Linked DNA regions of Homo sapiens: regions 2, 3, 4 and 5 are each linked to region 1. The links are contacts of gene promoters, found by promoter capture Hi-C in human tissues and cell types (Jung and others, 2019). All regions are on one chromosome and are shown on one strand. The core of a region is centred on a gene start or on the middle of the fragment in contact, and the rest is flanking DNA. Distances in the headings are between cores, read along the strand shown. Region 1 holds the start of ZNF670 (zinc finger protein 670). Region 2 overlaps ZNF496 (zinc finger protein 496). Region 3 overlaps AHCTF1 (AT-hook containing transcription factor 1). Region 4 overlaps AHCTF1 (AT-hook containing transcription factor 1). Region 5 has its middle 21 kb from the start of MIR3916.

Evidence for each region. Contacts are between HindIII fragments. The study calls those that stand out against the background at their distance.
Region 2: a contact is called between a fragment that was not itself captured here and the fragment with the promoter of ZNF670 in region 1, in 1 of the 25 tissues and cell types used here (spleen).
Region 3: a contact is called between a fragment that was not itself captured here and the fragment with the promoter of ZNF670 in region 1, in 2 of the 25 tissues and cell types used here (H1 embryonic stem cells and hippocampus).
Region 4: a fragment that was not itself captured here is called in contact with the fragment with the promoter of ZNF670 in region 1 in 2 of the 25 tissues and cell types used here (adrenal gland and bladder).
Region 5: a contact is called between a fragment that was not itself captured here and the fragment with the promoter of ZNF670 in region 1, in 2 of the 25 tissues and cell types used here (aorta and ovary).

Annotation. Positions count from the first base shown.
Region 1 is chr1:247,077,354-247,080,375 of GRCh38, reverse strand. ZNF670 (zinc finger protein 670) reads left to right here and starts at 1,565. Exons shown (of 4, transcript NM_033213.5): 1 at 1,565-1,782. The coding sequence starts at 1,780. ZNF670-ZNF695 (ZNF670-ZNF695 readthrough (NMD candidate)) reads left to right here and starts at 1,565. Exons shown (of 7, transcript NR_037894.2): 1 at 1,565-1,782. RefSeq lists silencers at 1,531-1,600, 1,389-1,702. The HindIII fragment of the contact is 11,562 bases long and covers 1-3,022 here.
Region 2 is chr1:247,321,636-247,324,657 of GRCh38, reverse strand. It overlaps ZNF496 (zinc finger protein 496), which reads left to right. Exons shown (of 10, transcript NM_032752.3): 6 at 1,428-1,504. Among named protein-coding and RNA genes, the nearest start is that of ZNF496, 8.7 kb to the left of the region's middle. RefSeq lists an enhancer at 1,521-2,025. The HindIII fragment of the contact is 8,506 bases long and covers 1-3,022 here.
Region 3 is chr1:246,856,551-246,859,572 of GRCh38, reverse strand. It overlaps AHCTF1 (AT-hook containing transcription factor 1), which reads left to right. Exons shown (of 36, transcript NM_001323342.2): 30 at 1,759-1,882. Among named protein-coding and RNA genes, the nearest start is that of LINC01341, 68 kb to the right of the region's middle. The HindIII fragment of the contact is 4,756 bases long and covers 1-3,022 here.
Region 4 is chr1:246,923,869-246,926,890 of GRCh38, reverse strand. The region is part of intron 1 of AHCTF1 (AT-hook containing transcription factor 1); the gene reads left to right. Among named protein-coding and RNA genes, the nearest start is that of AHCTF1, 6.6 kb to the left of the region's middle. The HindIII fragment of the contact is 6,720 bases long and covers 1-3,022 here.
Region 5 is chr1:247,221,726-247,224,747 of GRCh38, reverse strand. No RefSeq gene overlaps it. Among named protein-coding and RNA genes, the nearest start is that of MIR3916, 21 kb to the right of the region's middle. The HindIII fragment of the contact is 5,898 bases long and covers 1-3,022 here.

The DNA of each region.
Region 1 (3,022 bases), core at 316-2,815:
GGTTGCAGTGAGCCGAGATCATGCCACACTGCACTCCAGCCTGGGCAACAGAGTGAGACTCGGTCTCAAAAAAAAAAAAAAAAAAAAGGGATAATTTGAGCTCAAAAAATAGATACAGACTGCAGTGTATGGAATCTCATTAAATACACAAAAAATAAGGTTAGAAAAAAGTCACTCACATTTTTTTTGTTTGCTGAGGCCACGCCGTCATTGTTATGACAATTGATTAAAGGGAGAATCAAGCTTTTATTCTTCCTTTCCTAATAGGGTAGGTTTTAATGTAATGGAGAGAGTTCATGAGAAAACGCCATTTTTAATAGAAGAATGAGAACTAATACCTGTAGAGAAAATAATTAGAAAACCACTATTTGGCAACTCTCACTGAGATAAGTGAAATTAAGAAATAGTAATCAATAAATAATGAACAGTTACATGAAAGGAACAGGCAGACATTCCCGAACAACCTTAAAATAAAGTGGTAAAACCAGACACGTGTATCCAAATGTGCAGGCTGAATTGAAACATGCTGGAAGCTTAATATATAGAGTGATTTTTCATTAATAATATATCGATTGTAAGGCCGTCTGAGCAGGCTGCGCCATGGTCAAGCCATTGTGATCCCTGTGACCCACACGTGTACATCCAGAAGGTCCTGGAGCCAGAAAGTCTGGGACAACAGGAAAACCACAAAGGAAGAAAAACGGCTAGTTTCTGTCTTAGCTGATTAGCCAACCTTGCAGCATTTTACCGTTGTGACGTGCACTACCCTAACTGATCAATCAGCCTAGTGACACTGTGACCCCTCCCTCTTGTGACAATGTACTTTGTGACATTCTTCCCCCGCCGGTAATAAACGGCCCCTGACTGTAACTTTCCACTGCTTACCCCTCACCTATAAAACTAACTCCAATCCCACGACCCTCCGCTGACCCTCTTTTCGGACTCAGCCCGCTCGCACCCGAGTGAGTAAACTAGCCTTGCTGCTCACACTTAACCTGTTTGGGTAGTCTCTTCAATTAGGCGCGAGCTTAACATCGATCATATATTGAAACAATATTTTTGGATATATTTGGTTAAATAAATCATTGTAATCAATTTCACGTGTTGTTTTCTTTTCTATTGCTACTGGAACACACGCGGCTCACATTTTATTTCTATGGGGCGTTGCTACCTGAGAGGACATTGTCTTTTCAAAATTCAAGCTGCCTCTAATCCCACTAGAAGCAAGAAAAAAAAAAAAATTCAGGCTGCCTCCTCAAAAGACCAGAGGCCAGGAAGGTTGTGAAATCTGAAATTTTAGAATAATTGTCATCATAGTGTTTCCAATTGTAAATATCACAAATATTACTCATAAATGGACATAATCCTGTGTATGAGCTTGAATGGGAAAGTCCCCCGGGGGGCGCCAGGTCTCAGCACAGGGCAGAATCCATGCCTTAGAAAAGGACTGCAGGGAAAGAACCTGGCCTCACTCAGCGCCGTGTCTGATTGCATCTCCCGTCACTCAGGACTGAAGGGGCGGGGCCTAAGGCCCTGTCCAATCGGGCGCTGGGAAGGGGACTGTACTCTCAAGCGCGCCGCGAAAGGAGGGAGCAGCTTCCGGGACCTGGCGCGGCTTTTGTGTTGGGCAGCGCGAATGTGGCGAGCTCGGTGCGTCTCCGCTGCTCCTTCCCCTTATCCCTGGGAGGTCCAAGTGGTCCCGCGGCAGCTTCTGTTGCTCTGGGACCTGCAGGTCCCGGAAGGTCCTTAGGGAGGACCCCAGACACCGGAGACTGGGAAATGGTGAGTGTGCCGGCCAGGTGTCTCGGGAAGGGGAAAAGGGAACCGCCAGGAAGCGGTTGTGGCGAACCCGGACCTCCCCGCGGTGCCGACCCGAGTTTCCGCCGGCGCCTCGCGGCCTTAGTGGCACAGGATGCGGGGCTGGACCCGCAGCCAGACCCCGGGCCGCCTGGCTTGTCCCTGCCCCGCCGCTTCGGCCAGGCCCGGAACCCTTTCTGGGCAGCTCTGCCTCTGTAGACCCGCATCTCCCTCGGATCGTGCGGTGCCGACGGGAGGGTCCTCAGGGGAGAGTCCCGACTTGGGGTTCGGGGTTCCTGCGTGGGAGGAGCTGTGGTCTGTGAAGTCTCCAAATCCTCCTTTCTCCTGTTAGAAAGAAAACTGAGGCGCCGTTAAAATATTAAGGAGTTTATTTGAGCAGAGAGTCGTGAGTTAGGAAGCCACCAGCGTGGTTTGTGGTTTGGGGAAGGAAAGGGTTTTTTGTAAGGAACCCGAGGAAGCAAACCCAATTAAATAATTGATCGTGTACAGTTATGTAGTCACCCCATATAGACTGTGCAGCCAGATATCTCCTGGTTATGTAACCAGAGGTTAATTGGTGGGTTCGTGGTTGTTTAAGGCTGTTTTGTTTCCCTTTAAGTTATTAATTTACAAGACAAGCATGAGTTACGTTTTGGTTGGTTGTTTATTCATTCATGTGTGTATGTACATGTGTATGATGGAGTCTTGGACTCGGGCTCAAGCGATCCCCCCACCTCAGTCTCCCTAGTGCCTGTGTTTAATTATTTTCACATAACACTCCACATTTCTAAGTGTATGGCAACAGGATCTCACATCAACGACCCTGTTCCCACAGCCTAACTCTTCTGGGGCTTGTAGTAAAACCCTAAATTTCCAATTCTTTTCCTATATTCAAATGCAACATTATCAAGTATTTGTCTTTTATTGTACATTTCATACAGATGAAGTGTGTTATTTTTTTCAGAGTAGTGAGTCGTTCTGAAAATATTTGTTTTCACTCTTAAAATATTTCTGAACATTACACATGAGTGGAAAGCAGAAAATAATCACCTGACAGTTAATTGTAGAAAAAAAAAGTCTTTGTGCATCTCCTAATTTTATCTTTTTTGAGTGTGCACATCTTACCAGAGTATCTTTGGGGTGAAGTTCCCTTTTGGAAACTTTAGAGGGTGATATGTCCTCAGCCACCCTTATATCTTTTCTTGGTCCTCTGTTTAGCAGCCAG
Region 2 (3,022 bases), core at 332-2,831, 240 kb before region 1:
AGCTGGGCATGGTGGCACACCTGTAGTCCCAGCTACTCAGGAGGCTGAGGTGGGAGGATCCCTTGAGCTCAGGAGTTCTGTTCCAGCCTAGGCAACCTAGTGAGACCAGTCTCTTAAAAAAAAAAAAAGTCAAGCTAATTAATATAATGCATTACCTCATATACCTATCCTTTTTCTGTGTGTGGTGAAAATACTTCAGATCTACCCTCTTAGCAATTTTCAAGTACACAGTACGTTGTTACTGCCTATAGTCACCATGTTGTGCAATAGGACTCCTGAGTTTACTCCTCTCATGTCACTGAAATTTTGTACACTTTGACCAATGTCTCCCCAGTCCCCTCATTCCCTAGCCTCTGGTAACCAGCATTCTGATCTCTGCTTCTATGAGTTCAACTTTTTTAGAGTCCACATTTAAGTGAGAACATGCAGTATTTCTTTTTGTGTCTGGCTTATTGCTCGTAGCATGTCTTTCAGGTTCATTCATGTCGTCAAAAATGACAGGATTTTCCTTCTTTTTTTATGGAGTTCCACAGTAATTCTGATTGCCAACAGCCCTTACTTTTTTTTTTTTTTTTTTTCATTTGAGACAGAGCCATGTTCTGTCACCCAGGCTGGAGTGCAGTGGTGCAGCTGTGGCTCACTGCAGCCTCCATCTCTCAGGCTCAAGCAATCCTTCTGTTTCAGCTTCCCAGTTTTTTTATTTTTAATAGAGATGCGGTCTCCCTATGTTGCCCAGACTGGTCTTGAACTCCTGAGCTTAAGCAATCCTCCCACTTTGGCTTCCCAAAGAGCTAGGATTACAGGCATGAGCCACCACATCCAGACCCTAAGAGTCCTTATAGATTCCTCAACTCTACGGCTTTTTCTTTTTCTTCTTCTTTTTTTTTTTCTTTTTCTTTTTAAGAAACAAATACTCTGTGTTGTCCCTGCTGGTCTGGAACTCCTGGGCTCAAGTGATTCTCCCACCTCAGTCCCCAAAATAAGAATAGCTGAGATTACAGGCATGTACCACCACACACGGCTGAACTCCATAGAGTTTTAACCTTTATTTTCCCATAGTTTGGATAACAATGCTGAGGTCCGGGGACCTACCCGAGGTGAAAGAGTTCATTTAATTGACCGTGCTATCATGAACCCAGGCACACTCTGTTACAGCCCCCCTTGTTATATCTGGAAACAAAGTCGCAGCAATCTTTGTGGTTTACAGAGTACTTTTCATGTGCGTCATTTTGTAATCCTCATTTTACAGTTAAGAACAGAGACTGGGGTTTTATGAAAAGCACCATGAAACAGTTCCCTGTTGGTGCCTCTCTTGTGATTTTCTTTGCTACCAAAATGGAAATGAAGAGCCGCAGGAAGCTCAGAAGGTATCAGCACCAGGCCTGGCCCTGGCCCACTTTAGGACACCATTTTCTGATCTCTTTCAGTTCTGCAAGATGCTTTCCTTCTTCAGGAAGAGAATGTGCGGGACACACAGCAGGTGACCACCCTCCAGCTACCCCCGGTGAGTGGTTTCTACAGGAGTCCTTGAAAATCCCCTGTTTGCCTCTGTAGGCTACAGGGCAGCTTTCTTAGGACCCCAGCCAGCTTTCTGACTGCCACACAGGATGTTCAGTCCCAGCCCAGAAAAGCTAAAATAGGCAGAGCGTGAGCTTAAGAGACGCCCCATTTCTCCTCCTTCCCTGTGGTCCCAGCCGCCCACTGGGTCTACTGTCATCAGGCCACCTTCAGGAAGCTTTGTGCAGACGATAGCAGGAAACAAAGGCCCATGAGTCCCCATTGATGGGCCTCTCAGCATGTCTAAGTTCCCCTCTTGTGAAAAAGGAGATCTCTCTGCTCTTTTATTTTACAGAGAATTTTTCAATTTAATAATCATCGCAGCAATGGTTATATTTTAGAAATGTTAGGAAGTGGAGGGAAGAAAGCACAGATAATTTCAGTCCTGTCACAGATCTACGTGGTGAGTCATTCCAGAATTTCCTCGAATGTTCTCGTTCGTGTTTTTGTGTAAGACTTGCTTACTCGGGTGCTCTGAGGAGTCAGAGTCAGGGCTGGGGGCTGGTCCAGCAGGTGATCTTACTCGCCTCTCTCTAGCCCAGTTGCTGTCTTTGGCCATGTTTTCTGGCCATATCTCCTTCACTTTCCCTCCTAACACTTTCCACTGGCTGGCACAAGATTTAGTTATGACAGCATCATCCCCTCCCATGGGAACAGGATGTGTGGCTCCTGCTTTTGTTTAGTTGCTCCTTACCCAACAGAAAACTGTGAAAAACAGTAGACACTCTTATTACCATGTCTCAGCAGAATGTCGGAAGCTGAGCAGTTTGCTTTCTGCACAGTTCATTTGACATGACTTTATTTTATTTTTATTTTTAGAGACAGGGTCTTGCCTTGTCACCCAGGCTTCAATGCAGTGGCACAGTCGTAGTTCACTGCAGCCTCAAACTCCTGAGCTCAAGCCATCCTCCCACCTCGGTCTCCTGAGCAGCTGGGACTACAGGTGCATGCCACTACACCCAGCTAAGTTTTGTATTTCCTTGTAGAGACAGGGTCTCGCCATGTTGCCCAGGCTGGTCTCAAACTCCTGACCTCAAGTGATCCTCCTGTCTCAGCCTCCCAAAGTGCTGGGATTACAGGCATGAGCCACTGTGCCCAGCCAACATGACTTTAAACTTGGAGAAGGGAGGGCTAGGGATGGGAAGGAGTTAGCCAGGTTACCCAGTTAGGGGGCATCTCCATAACTTGCTTTTGCCCCACCAGAAATGTGGCACACGCCTGTTTACCCTGATGCTCAACACATACATGTCAGCATCTGCTGTGTACTGTGACCATTTCCAAACACAAAGGAGGTAAAACCAGTATTTCTTATTAAAATTTGGACATTTAACCAGTATAACACATAAGGGGATGCTGTTAATCCAGTACCTAATGAGGTTTGGTCTTCATCTTTCAATTCCTGCAGTCCCTAGTAAATGCCATAGCGAGCACAGTACAGAGATTTTGATAAGTCAGTACTGTTGTA
Region 3 (3,022 bases), core at 181-2,680, 220 kb after region 1:
ATTATTTTAGTGATCAAAAAATGTTTTGAGTTCCTGAAGTATGTATTCCTGTTAGCTCCTACTGTGTTTATTCTAGGTGTTGAAGATCAAACAGTGAGTCAAGTAGAAATGGCACCTGCTCCCATGTCACACAGAGCATGGTGGACTATACTGACAAACACTTAGAATCCAGTTTGGTTAACAAGAGGGCCAGGGGAACACTAGTAAATGGGAGAGACTTCACCTAGAATTGGTGGGTCAGAAAACTGAACCTATTTGTATGTTTCTTACCCTACACACGTTTTTAACAAGGTTATTTAAAGGTAACTCCTAACTCTAAAGCTGTAAAACTACATACTTACATAAAAATCTGCATCTTAAGTAGTTTAAGATGAGAGTCCACTGAAGTTTGGACTACGATATCTTTACTTAGTAAGCATGGGCATTATTAATTACTCTAAGAACTTTAGGACCATGCCCATAAATAGCATATGTCTAGAAATTTACACTGCCTTACTTATTTGAGACAGAGTCTTGCTCTGTCGCCCAGGATGGAGTACAGTGGGGCTATTTCAGCTCCTGCAACCTCTTCTCTTGCCTCAGCCTCCCAAGTAGCTGGATTACAGGCATGCGCCACCGGTCCTGGCCTACATTGCTCTTTTGATGTGCCTTGTTCTACTAACATGTTTAAATGGTAGCTGTTAAAAGAATGTTCATAGCATTATCTTCACTGATTATTCTTACAATATTAGGCAGTCTCAAATAGAAATTTGTATTTATTTTTTTTTTTTTTTGAGACAGAGTTTCGCTCTTGTTGCCCAGGCTGGAGTGCAGTGGTGTGATCTCGGCTCACCGCAACCTCTGCCTCAGCCTCCCGAGTAGCTGGGATTACAGGCACGTGCCACCATGCCCAGCCAATTTTTGTATTATTAGAGGCGGGGTTTCACCATGTTGGCCAGGCTGGTCTCGAACTCCTGACCTCGTGATCTGCCTGCCTCAGCCTCCCAGAGTGCTGGGATTACAGGTATGAGCCTCCGTGCCTGGCCAGAAATCTTTATTGTGTTTGTGGTGGGTGGGGTTTCATACAACACAAACTCTATAGTGAAGCTAGATTTGAATCCTAGCTCAGCTACTTACTGAGTATGCGTCATGAGCTGGGATACGCAGTATAACCTTAGGCTTCAGTTTTCTTATCTACTTTTTTTGAATGTTGAGGATTAAGTAAGTTAATGTATATAAAACAGTTGCATTAGTGCCTGTTCAGCAAAAAGTGAAAAGCGAGAGGTTAAGGGGGGCTCTTGAGCTAGGTTCAGAGAATTAGAAGAAGAAGGTGTTGGCCGGGTGCAGTGGCTCATGCCTGTAATCCCAGCACTTTGGGAGGCCCAGGTGGGTGGATCACGAGGTCAGGAGATCGAGACCATCCTGGCTAAAACAGTGAAACCCCGTCTCTACTAAAAATACAAAAAATCAGCAGGGCATGGTGGCGGGCATCTGTAGTGCCAGCTACTCGGGGGGCGGAGGCAGGAGAATGGCGTGAACCTGGGAGGCAGAGCTTGCAGTGAGCCAAGATAGCGCCACTGCACTCCAGCCTGGGCGACACAGCAAGACTCCATCTCAAAAAAAAAAAAAGAAGAAAGTGTTAGCAGTCTGATAACACAGCAGCAAACCTAAAAGAACAAAAAAGCAGACCCAACAACTTTTTAAAAAGTAATAATGCAAGACTATCAGTAATCACTAAATATTTAGCATAAATAATATTCTTATTTGTATGACTTATAGGCAATTTAGAAGATGCAGAAACAAAGGATCTCTTAGTTGCAGCAGAGGCATTTTCAGAATTGAATCACTTAAGCCCGGTTCAAGGAACTGAAGCTTCTCTTTGTGCACCATCAGTCTATGAAGGGTAAGTTAATGGAGAGAAATTCAAATACTTTTAGAAAGAAGTTTAATGAAATTATGAACCAGAAGTAAAATATTCTGTGCATGTTAGATTTCACTTAGATCTTTAACATCTCCATTTTGGTAATGTTGGCTGTTTTAAAAGAAGTTTAGTTGTGCAGTTATATGTCATTTAGTAGTTACTATAAAGTTTCGGAAATATACAGAGACACGGTAAATTGAGGCAGAACTCTGGTGATTCTGTTTTTGTTGAAGACCAAGATTTCGCTCACAGCTGTGCATACCTCCATGCCCTCTGCTTTCCAGTGGTTTCAGGATGATCAGGCACAAGACTCTTGTAGGTAGACACAGTAGAGCACAGGGGAGATGACAGACAGTTTTATTTCCTTCCATTTGTTCAATACATGACTCTAAGTTTGTGTTTTTTAACGACCATTTGAAACATACTCCCAAATAATTTTCATTGACACTTTACCAGATGACGTATTCAAAGTATGGTCAAGCAGATTGGTGAGAGTGTCAGTTTATGTTCTGCAACAAGATAAACAGCCTGCCTTGGAATATAGATAAGTGCACTGCCTCCTTTACGGAAAGTCAGCTGTACTAATCAGTATGATTAGTGAAGCAATTGATTCACCTTCTGGCAAGAGGTCCTTGTCTCATTGCGAGACTGACACAGATTGCATGTCCGCACTTTTGAATAACACCGTTGTAGAGGATACAAAAAAGGGACAGCTTCAGTTATCAAGTAGTAGTAAGGGTGATTCAGTAAAATTAACCGACACAAAATATAACTTACAACATTATAAATGGTTCGTTACTTTATACATAATGAAAGGGACTTACCAGACCACCTATACAATTCAGTATCATGATAGTCACCCCTTGTACCTTGAACTAAATCACATGCTTTACGCCTGAGAAATCTAGATTAGCTGGAATTTTTGCCAGGCCTGCATGGAAAAAGTAGAAGCCAGTATGAAAGGATTATCCAAATTATTTTTTCATTGTAATGTTTTTTGAATTTTAATGAAAACTAATGTTATTTATTGCAATGGCTTTCATGGATAATTGCAAAGCAAAGAGCAGTCGCATGAGAAGGAATCACATGAGAGTTACCAGCATGAGAAGGAATCACATGAGA
Region 4 (3,022 bases), core at 357-2,856, 150 kb after region 1:
TACACTTTTGTTTGTTTTGAGACTTGTTTGTTTTGAAACGGGGTTTCGCTCTTGTTGCCCAGGCTGGAGTGCAATGGTGCAGTGTCGGCTGACTGCAATCTCCGCCTCCCGGGTTCAAGTGATTCTCCTGCCTCAGCCTCCCAAAGTAGCTGGGATTATAGGCATGCGCCACCACACCTGGTTAGTTTTCTGTATTTAGTAGAGACGGGATTTCACCCTGTTAGTGAGGCTGGTCTTGAACTCCTGACCTCAGGTGATCCACCCACCTCAGCTTTCCGAAGTGCTGGGATGACAGGTGTGAGCCACCGCGCCTGGCCCCTATTTCTAATAATAGAGTGTTTCGATGTTCTCTGTAGTGTGCTTAAATTGGAAAAGTCTTAAAACCAATTTTGCCCTATAGATTCAAAGGCTGTTAAATTTGAAAAACTTTATTAAACATTTTTTTGAACTCCTTTGTGCTAGGCACCATGATGAAGTCTGGAGAAATAAGTACTCCTCTTTTCTAGAAGCTTGGATATGAAAGGGAGGAAGACAGAATATAGTAAAGCACAATGTTACATGTATTATTAAGTGCTAGAACCTGGATTCAAAGTTTGAATTAGAAATACGTTAGCCTGTGTTGCTATAAAGGAATATGTGAAACTGGATAATTTATGAAGAAAAGAGGTTTATTTTGCCTCATGGTTCTGCAGGCTGTGCAGGCATGACACCAGCAGCTGCCTACCTTCTGGTGAGGGTGTCAGGAAGCTTCCAATCATGTCAGAAGGCAAAGGGAGAGCAGGATACTCACATGATGAGAGTGGGGAGTGAGGAGGTACCAGGCCTTTTTTTTTTTTTTTTTTTTAAAGACAGGGTCTCACTGTCGCCTAGGCTAGAATTCATTGGTGCAGTTATGGCTCACTGCAACCTTGACCTCCCAGGCTCAAGCAATCCCAGTAGCTGGGACTACAGGCAGGCGCCACCACACCTGGCTAATTATTTTTCGTAGAGATGAGATTTCGCCATGTGGCCCAGGCTGGTGTCAAATTCCTGGGCTCAGTCAGTCTGCCTGCCTCAGCCTCCCAAAGTGCTGGGAGCCACCATGCCTGGCTTTAAACAGCCAGATCTCATGTGAATTCATTACTGTGGAGAGGACACCAACCCATTCATGAGGGGTCCTCTCCCATGACCCAGACACCTCCTACCAGGCCCCACCTCCAACACTGGGGATCACATTTCAGTATGAGATTGGGAGGGGACAGTTATACAAACCACATTAGGTTTATTTTTTATATTTTTAGAAACAGGATCTTGCCCAGGCTGGAGTGCAGTGGCCTGATCATAGCTTACTGCAACCTACAACTCCTGGTCTTAAGAGATCCTTCCGCCTGAGCTTCCCAGAGTGCTGGGTGTACAGGCATAAGCCATCATGTCTGGCCACAGTTTAAATACTGTGGCTTTATTCTCTTAGAGCTAGTACTTCTATATCATCTTTGTTTTGCATTCAAACAACATAACAAAACTCACCCAGCCTAAGAAATAGAACATTTACTATATTTCATTTTCCAAAAAATGCTTTTTGTGTGTTATCCTTTGGACTTTGGATTTTGTGAAAATCTTTCCAAAATTGTATTGAGATGATTTTGATTGAAGTATAGGGATCATGGAACTTTTTTGCTCATTATCCATTAGCACTCTTCTGAATACACTTTGTAAAAAGCTACTGCATGGAATTCTGAAGGTTTTGGTTCTGGTTGACTTACTTTGGTTTTAAGTTTAGTAGGAAAAATGTGTTAACTTCAGTTCATCATTAAACTAGTTTTATCAAGCTATATAAAAGGCTGTCAGAGGGGAAAACAACATAGTAACAATGTGATTCTGGCCTTTTCCATCTGTTTCTCTAAAAATTTTTTTGGTACTAAGCTACTTAGGAGATGAATAGGGTCCATTTGTGTATATAAGAGCAACTAAGGCTTGAGTATAGGACCCTCATGAGGGTTTTGTATTGGAGGCTAATGGTCATAGCTTCCTATTGATGCACACCTTTATATTAGGTTAGACTTTTGGATCTGTTTTGGATAATAAAAAGCAAACTTCTACTTTTGATGACTTGGAAATCTCAAACATAACTTTTTAGGTTTTGTGACTTAATGGTGACATATGTGATTAAGTTTTTGAGGCAGTCCATCAAGTTTTTGTCTAGGAGATAGCATTTATAGCCTGAACAGAAAATGATAACTCATATATTTTAATTTTTTGAGTGAATCTTTGAAATGTTTTTTTCACATAAATTTTTTTGGGGGAGGGGACTAAGATGTGGAGAGAATAAGAATGACAAGAAAGAACGTTAGGTTGATTTTTGCCTTGTTCCCATCCTAAGGCTACATAAATATGTACTGTATTTTTAAAGTTGCATTTTTATTTTATATATATATGTTTTAAAATTCTTTAATTATTGATTTTATAAGAAATCCAAGCCATACTGAAATGAGCAAATCACAAATTTGCATCACACAAAAATAAACGGCACTAATGTTTTGTGAATATTTCAGATATCTCTGTTTAAAGATAAACAGATGGAAGAATTCATAGAGATTATTGTATGAAATGCTAATTTTTAGAAATAGTTAATTTCATAAGAAAACTGAAAGGAATTGTTAAATTTATAGTAGTTCTTTTAATGTAAATATTTCTTTATAAATTTTTTAAAGTTAAACACATCTGTTAGAAGTGGCTGTTATCCTGTTATTTTACCACAGGTTTCAGTTTGATAGTATTGATTCTCTTCTGTGAGAATGGCTTGGGCTGGGTGTTGGAACTGAATGTAGTCCTTTCTGTACTCAATAGATAGGAGGGGGAGTGCTGAGAAACGGTAATGACTTGTACCTCGGATCTCTCTTTTGCCAGATTTATATTCTACGCCTTTGGGCCTTCACCTTTCTCCCAAAACAGCAGCACAGTTCCCTGAAACATGGCCCTCTTCTCAGGTCCTGTGGCATAGTATGTAGTTAGGGACTTCCAGACCTGGAGTTTTCCTGGGGTT
Region 5 (3,022 bases), core at 161-2,660, 140 kb before region 1:
GCTATAAATTTCCCTCTTAACACTGCTTTAGTTGCATCCCAGAGATTCTGGTACATTGTCTCTTTGTTCTTATTAGTTTCAAAGAACTTCTTAATTTCTTCCTTAATTTCATTATTTACCCCAGAGTCGTTCAGGAGTAGGTTGTTCAATTTCTATGTAGTTGTGTGGTTTTGAGTGCGTTTCTTGAGTTCTAATTTGATTGTGCTGTGGTCTGAGAGATTGCTTGTTCTGATTTCAGTTCTTTTGCATTTGCCAAGGAGTGTTTTACTTATGATTATGTGATGAATTTTAGAGTCAGTGCCATGCCTGGTGATGAGAAGAATGTATATTCTGTTGTTTTGAGTGAAGAGTTCTGTAGATATTAATCAGGGCCACTTGGTTCAGAGCTGAGTTCAAGTCCTGAATATCTTTGTTAATTTTCTGTCTCAATAATCTGTCTAATATTATCAGTGGGGTGTTAAAGTCTCCCACTGTTATTATGTGGGAGTCTAAGTCTCTTTGAAGGTCTCTAAGAACTTGTTTTATGAATCTGGGTGCTCCTGTATTGGGTGCATATATGTTTAGGATAGTTGGTTCTTGTTGAACTTTACCATTACGTAATGCCCTTCTTTTTCGATGTTTGTTGGTTTAAAGCCTGTTTTGTCAGAAACTAAGATTGTGAGCCCTGCTTTTTTCTATTTTCAATTTGCTTCGTAAATTTTCCTCCATCCCTTTATTTTGAGTCTATTTTTGTCTTTGCATGTGAGATTGACTCTTGAAGACAGTATACCAATGTGGCTTGATTCTTTATCCAGCTTGCCATTCTGTGTCTTTTAACTGGGGCACTTAGCACATTTACATTTAAGGTTAATATTGTTATTTGTGAAATTGATCCTGTCATCATGATGCTAACTGGTTATTTTGCAGACTTTTTTGTGTGGTTGTGTCATAGTTTCACTGGTCTCTGTACTTCAGTGTGCTTTTGTGGTGGCTGGTACTGGTTTTTCCTTTCCACATTTAATGCTTCTTTCAGGAGCTCTTGCAAGGGAGGCCTGGTGGTGTAGTCCCTCAGCATTAGCTTGCCTGAAAAGGATCTTATTTCTCCTTTATTTATGAAGCATGGTTTGGCTGGATATGAAATTCTGGGTTGGAAACTCTTTTCTTTACAAATATTTAATATTGGCCCCCAGTCTCTTCTGGCTTCTGCTGAGAGCTCTGTTGTTAGTCTGATGGGCTTTGCTTTGTACATGACCTGGCCTTTCTCTCTGGCTGCCCTTAACATTTTTTCTTTCATTTCAACTTTGAATAATCTGATAATTATGTGTCTTGGGGTTGATCTCCGAATGGAGTATCTTACTGGGGTCCTCTGGATTTCCTGAATTTGAATGGTGGCCAGTCCTGCTAGGTCGGGAAAGTTCTCCTGGATGATATCCTGAAGTATGTTTCCCAACTTGGTTTTGTTCTCCCCATCTCTTTCGGGCACCCCATTCAGTCACAGATTTGGTCTTTTACATAATCCCATCTTTCTTGGAGGTTTTGTTTGTCCCTTTACATTTTTTCTCTATTCTTGTCTGCCTGTCTTATTTCAGAAAGATAGTCAAGTTCTGAGATTCTTTCCTCCACTTGATTACAGTAAGGTGTGTGCCTCATTTCGACATGCTGTGATCTGCTGGCTGCCTGGAATTGGCTGAAGCTCAGTGCTTGTGACTGGCTGAGACCCAGCTATCTATACCAAAAAATACACTCCTAAATTGGGTTTTCGTTTATTTGCATACTAAGTTAGGTTGTAGTTTATTACACAGGAACTGAAAGTAGAAAGACAGCATTGGGACAATGGTCTTCCACTTATTTCATTTAACAATTTCTCCCTTGTGATCAGTCTCTCAATTTTGAGACTGGCATGGTCTGATTTAACGAGGATTCCATCTTTATCTTTAGCCTGGTAACACAAGTCATAGAAGCCTGGAGACCCACTCACTAGAAAAAAAACATAAATATTAAAAAAAAAACGTTTAAAGTTAAGCTTGTCATCCACCATTTAGAATGCCCACAAGCAAACTATTAGCTTTTCCTATAAACACATCCATATTCCCTTTTTAGTGTATTTATTATCAGTGTCTTAAGAAACAGGATATCAGCCACCTTTTAAATTAAGCTTTCTGTAGTAGCAAAATCAGGGGAAGAAAAATACAATATTCAGTATTGTTTAGCACCATGTACAACTGTCCAACAGAGTCAAAGAGGAGATGTAAAATTGTACCATGTCTCATTAAGTGCTTCTGGTGAACACATGCTATCATTCACCTTTTGGAGGATGGCTTCGACCTGTCTGAAGCCCTGGGATGTCTGGTTGACCACACAATTTAAGAATTTCACGAACGTATAAATTAGTTTCAAATTCCACACAACTGGTAACCCACTGCCAACAGGAGTGAGCCGCTAGGTTCGCCTCCACTGAAGAATCTTTCTTCAGTAAAAAGTAGCTCATCTTCATCTATTTAAAGGTATCTAGGAGGTGGCTCACACCTGTAATCCCAGCACTTGGGGAGGCTGAGGTGGACGGATTCCTTGAGGTCAAGAGTTCAAGACCAGCCTGGCCAACATGGTGAAACCCCGTCTCTGCAAATAAAAACAAACAAACAAACAAAAAAACAAAATATATATATTAGCTGGGCATATATATAGCTGGGCACACACTGGCAATCCCAGCTACTCAGGAGGCTGAGGCAGAAGAATCACTTGAACTTGGGAGACGAAGGTTGCAGTGAGCCGAGATCATGCCACTGCACTCCAGCCTGGGTAACAGAGTGAGACTCTGTCTCAAAAAACAAACGAACAAACAAAAACAAACAAAAACACAACAAAAATTAAGATAGCTTGTCTTTATCCATTTCAGTTGTTGACCAATTTAACCTCAGGATCAGCTGTCCAACAATGGACATTCTCTCTTAAAATGCTCTGGCTTTCCACACTTGCAACATCCACTCATAGTCTTAGGAGGTTTTCCCTGCATTTCCCTTCTTTCTTGGTGTTGAAGTCTATT